Regions from separate parts of the Homo sapiens genome. Here region 2 is linked to region 1. Evidence: promoter capture Hi-C in human tissues and cell types (Jung and others, 2019). All regions are on one chromosome and are shown on one strand. Each heading gives the region's core, a stretch centred on a gene start or on the middle of the fragment in contact. The rest is flanking DNA. Distances are from core to core; before and after follow the strand shown. Region 1 holds the start of UMOD (uromodulin). Region 2 has its middle 6.2 kb from the start of GPRC5B.

Region 1 (2,700 bases), core at 97-2,596:
AAATGTTTCTGGAGTGGTCACTTACTATTTCTTCCAATTGGAAAAATAGTCCAGGGTGGATGCCAGTATTACCCCAGTGTTTATAGCAGCAAAATAGGGTGGCATGTTGGTTAAGTATGTAGGAGCTGCAGCCTGCACCTGAGGTTCAAATCCCTGCTTTACTGATCACTAACACTGTGATGTGGGTATTTCAGTTTACTAAGTCTCCGTTTTTGTCTGTGAAATGGAGATTGTTGCTTTCACAAACTGAATATCTATGATGGGCCAGGCTCAGTTCAAAGACATTCATGTGCTCAAAGGCATTGGGTCCTAGAGCAACGTTTTCCAGATCTTCGTGACCATGATGTACTAAAAGAAAAACATTTTATGTTGCCAGGTGCAGTGGCTCATGCCTGTAATCCCAACACTTTGGGAGACTGAGGGGGTGGATCACAAGGTCAGGAGTTTGAGACCAGCCTGGCCAGCATGGTGAAACCCCATCTCTAATAAAAATACAAAAATTAGCCGGGCATGGTGGTGGGCGCCTGTAATCCCAGCTACTCGGGAGGCTGAGACAGGAGGATTGCTTGAACCTGGGAGGCAGAGGTTGCAGTGAGCTGAGATCGTGCCACTGCACTCCTGCCTGGGTGACAGAGAGTCCATCCCCCCCCCCCAAAAAAAAAAAGACAGAAAGAAAGAAAAACATTTTATGTCATGATCTAGTGCAGTCGCTTCTGCATGTATGTGCACACACACATAAAATTTTATAAGACAATTGATATCCTTACTACATTAAGTGATTTAATTCTTACCACAACCCTATGAGATAAGTATTATCCTAGTTTGCAGATGAGAAAACAGGGGGACAAAGAGGCTAACTGCTTGCCTCAAATTTGTATTGCTTACTGACATATTCTATTATATTTAATTAAAAGAAGTCCCTGGATATAACCCACAAAAGGAATGATTTTATGACCCGCTAATAAGATGCGACCTAAAACACTGCATATTGTCACTGGGATTAACTAAGATGACATATGTCGAGCAGGGCCCAGCACATAGCAAGTTGTTCATTGTTGTAACCCTGGTACCTGGCACATAATAGGTGCATAACTAATATTCATGGAATAAGTCAAAAAATAGTAGTCATTGTTACTAGGACAGAGAGGATCAAAGAGAGGAAAACTAACTTACTAAAGATCATGAAGCCAATAATTGGCAGAATAATGACTCAAATCCAGGTCTGACCCCAGTGTCCAAGGTCTTAATTTCCTCTCCTACCTCCCTCAAATAGGATGGGGAGAAGCTGGGCTAGGAGAAGACAGCTACAGATAGCCTTACCTGAAGCCAGAAAGGTAGAGTTAGTCTGGTCATGATGTGCCTCATACTTATATATACACATTTGCCCCAGGCTGGCAATCTCTCCTCCAATTAGTCTCTAGTTCTGTTTTTTGATATTGTTTTCTTGGGGGTGGAATATTTTTTCCTCCTGGCATAATGTTTGCCTTGTCCAAGCTGTGAGGTTGTTGTTGTTCTTTTTCCTAATAGCTAGAGACCCCAAATGATTGACATTGGGGGGTCACACCTGTGCCCGGAAATACAAGGTCACTGTTTCGCACCTTCTAACAGCAAGAGATTCCATAGTTAGAAATTAACTGGGAAAGCAGTGCCAAGGTGCTGGGCTTCTTCTTGGTCACTGACAAGGGCAGGGTGGGATCAAGGAGCCAGGCAGAAGCCAGTATCTGAAGCCAGGCTGCATAAGGACAAAAGGGATATTCACTGCCCCAGATGGGAGGTGCACCTGTCTTGGAGAGGGCACCCTTCTGAAACACCCATTCTCATGAGATCAGCCTTAGAATCCAGACACAAGCAAGAGAGGAGCTGAGAATGGCTGAAAGTCAGAACCAGAAGGTAGTTCAGACATCACTGGACCTGACCCACTCTGTACAACAAAGAATCAGGTCTGATGACTGGGAGGTCCCTTTGGAGGCGAAATAAATTTGCACTTAAATAGACTGACTTTGGAGTCAGTCTGCCTCCTTTATCTGGTGTTTATTGTGTGGCAGTGGGCTCATTTCTTAACCTTCCTGAGGTCCAGAGGTCAATTTCCTTGTCTATAAAATGAGAATACCCATCTCCCACAGTAGTAATAGTAACCAAAGGAGATGATGCAAGTAAAGTCATATAGTAATGATTATATTCATGGAAGTAGTGAAAATTCTGCTTTGCTGTTGTGCAATCACTGAGGTAGAAAATGACAGAGCCTGAGTTAAAACCATGTCTTCAGACCCAGTTCAACATACATGACATTCCAAAAGTCAGTGTGAGAGTGGCTGTCATCATGTTGAGAAAAATAAAATATGTGTGAACTTGGGCTGAGCAGGAAAATATCACCATGATCACTGCATTGATCTTTTTTTTTTTTATACTTTAAGTTTTAGGGTACAAGTGCACAACGTGCAGGTTTGTTACATATGTATACATGTGCCATGTTGATGTGCTGCACCCATTAACTTGTCATTTACATTAGGTATAACTCCTAATGCTATCCCTCCCCGCTCCCCGCATCCCACAATAGGCCCCTGGGTGTGATGTTCCCCTTCCTGTGTCCAAGTGCTCTCATTGTTCAATTCCCACCTGTGAGTGAGAACATGCGGTGTTTGGTTTTTTGTCCTTGCGATAGTTTGCTGAGAATGATGGTTTCCATCTTCATCCATGTCC
Region 2 (2,700 bases), core at 58-2,557, 460 kb before region 1:
ATTTATAAAGAAAAGAGATGTATTAGCTCACAGTTCTGCAGGCTGTACACGTTTGACCCCAGCATCTGCTCGGCCTCTGGGGAGGCCTCGGGAAGCTTTTGCTCATGGCAGAAGGCGAATGGGGAGCTGGTGTGTCACATGGCGAGAGAGAGAGAGCCAGAGAGATGCCGGGCTCCTCTAATCAGCCAGCTCTTGTGTGAACTAACAGAGAGAGAACCCACTCACTACTGTGAGCCACTCATGAGGGATACATCCACATGACCCAGACACCTCCAACACCGGGAATCACATTTCAACATGAAATTTAACGTGGACAAATATTCAAACCATATCAACTTCCTACCTACATACTTTGCTTGGCTAGGCTGAGAAGGTTCCCAGGCTCCCCTGAGACTCCAGCACTTGATGTTCTCCTTAGAGCAGCAATGGGGGACACTTCAGGCTGTTGGCATTTCTGGAAGCATCTTTGGGGTGAGCAGCCAGGAGCACTGAGTAAACAAATGTGGAACACACCATTGCCACCATTCCACTATTTTGTGCCCATGACAGGCATCACCAATGGATTGCTGCTTTTAATGCCCTCAGTCTGTAACTGTAACTGCCCATTATGTGTTAGAAAATTCAGGCTGGGTACAGCGGCTCACACCTGCAATCCCAGCACTTTTAGAGGCTGAGGTGGGAGGATCACTTAAGCCATGGAGTTCAAGACCAGCCTGGGCAACAGAGCAAAACTCCCATCTCTACAAAAAATTTGTAACCAGGTGTGGTAGCATGTGCCTGTAGTCCCAGCTACTCTGGAGGCTGAGGTGGGAGGGTTGTTTGAGTCTAGGAGGTTGAGGCTGCAGTGAGCTGTGATCACACCACTGCATTCCAGCCTGAGTGACAGAGCAAGACCTTGTCAAAAAAAAAAAAAAAAAAAAAGAAAGAAAGAAAGAAAGAAAAGAAAAGAAAAGAAAAAAGAAAAGAAAATTCATTCACAGTGGCAAAGTGCTCTTCAGTTGTTTCTGGGAGTCCCCAATGGGGTGTCCCCATAGACATCCACAAACCAGTGTGTCAGTTGCAGTCAAAATGTGACTGCCACCCTCTCTTCCTACAGGTTCTTGTCTGTGAGTACGCAAGATTGCTTGGAGTAGCCTCATCATGGCCCCATTGGTCCCCTGCAAGGCTGCCATGGGGACACTCTCCCAAAGCCCCCAAAGCTGTCAGGAAACATTTAAGCAGCAGGACAATTGTTACGGCCTACACAATAGGGATGTTTGTTATCACACAACAATAAGTCGGGATGTGAGTGATCTCACAGTTGGTCCATTGCTCAACAATGTAAACAGGGGCCCAGTGTCTTTCTAGTAGTCTTCTGATCAGCTGTCCTCTGCTTGGGACCTCATGGTCACAAGATAGCTGCCATGGCACCAAACATCACATCTTCACTTGACAATCTCCAGTATGGGAAAGAAGCTGTCCAGGGAAGAGAGCTCTTCTTGTGAGTCTCCCTGTTAATCAGAAAGAAAATCATTCCTAGAACTGCCCTACTTCTCACCCCAGGTGCAGAATTACCCTTATATTTCCTTGGTCAGAACTGAATCACCTCGCTTCCCCTAGTACAAAGGAGGCTGAGAAGTGAGCTCTTGGCACCAAGAGACTCAGTAAAGAAGGAGGGTGAGGGAAAGGTGCTTGAGGCAGGAAACCTCAGTGTCTGCCCCAAGTGACCTTCCTGAGAGTTGAAGGAGCAGGGGCTTGAGCTGGTGGCACACATGTCCACTGCCCTACCCAGCCACCTGTAAGGGTAGCTTCTGAGCTTCTGAGTCACCACTATCTCAGGGGGATCAAACCCAATCCCAGGGCCAGATAGAAAGTGTGTGGCCCCTTTCCCTTCTCCCCTCCCCTCCTTTTCTCCTGACGCAAATCTGTCACAGAAGCAGCTCTCTATCTTCATAGAAGGTTTCTGCTTTACCCTTTGGGAGGCCGAGGTGGGCAGATAGCCTGAGGTCAGGAGTTCGAGACCAGCGTGGCCAACATGGTGAAACCCTGTCTCTACTACAAATACAAAAAAATTAGCTGGGCATGGTGTCACATGCCTGTAATCCCAGCTACAATGGAGGCTGAGGCAGGAGAATCGCTTGAACCTGAGAGGCAGAGGTTGCAGTGAGCCGAGATCACGCCACTGCGCTCCAGCCTCGGCAACAGAGTGAGACTCGGTCTAAAACAACAACAACAAAAAAAGGTTTCTGCTTTGTCATTTCACTACTAGAAGTTCCCTTGCTGTGTCCCCAAAACAAAGGAACTGTCTGTCCCCCCCAAAGACAAACTCAAGCCTCTACCCCTATGTAAAACAAAGAATGATTTGAATGGTTGCAATTCTAGGTTATTTATTTATAGGCGTCTATGAACTTCCTGGTGGAGGTTTAAGAAATGTTGGACCATTTATCTTTACTCGGTTATGAAGCTTAGAGTGATGTGGGATCCACTTTAAGAGAAAGGGTGGAGGCAGGGCCTGGATGTGCCAGCCCCAGAGCCCAGGCTGTAACCACTGCCCCATCCTGCTGTTTTACCCCCGGGCAGGAATCCTCTGATCAGCTTCACTTTCTCTTAGTTTTTCCTTATGACACTGTGATGTACTTCCAAATCACCAGGCTCTTGTCCACATGAACACTCTGGTTCAGAGGGTGGGAGAGGATTCGTACCCCCAAAAGCTCCCAGCTG

The links. The method cuts DNA at HindIII sites, captures the fragments that hold promoters and counts their contacts. A contact is called where the count stands out against the background at its distance.
Region 2: a fragment that was not itself captured here is called in contact with the fragment with the promoter of UMOD in region 1 in 2 of the 25 tissues and cell types used here (H1 embryonic stem cells and thymus).

Annotation. Positions count from the first base shown.
Region 1 is chr16:20,351,369-20,354,068 of GRCh38, forward strand. It overlaps UMOD (uromodulin), which reads right to left and starts at 1,347. Exons shown (of 11, transcript NM_003361.4): 1 at 1,321-1,347. The HindIII fragment of the contact is 15,409 bases long and covers 1-2,700 here.
Region 2 is chr16:19,889,698-19,892,397 of GRCh38, forward strand. No RefSeq gene overlaps it. Among named protein-coding and RNA genes, the nearest start is that of GPRC5B, 6.2 kb to the left of the region's middle. The HindIII fragment of the contact is 3,795 bases long and covers 1-2,700 here.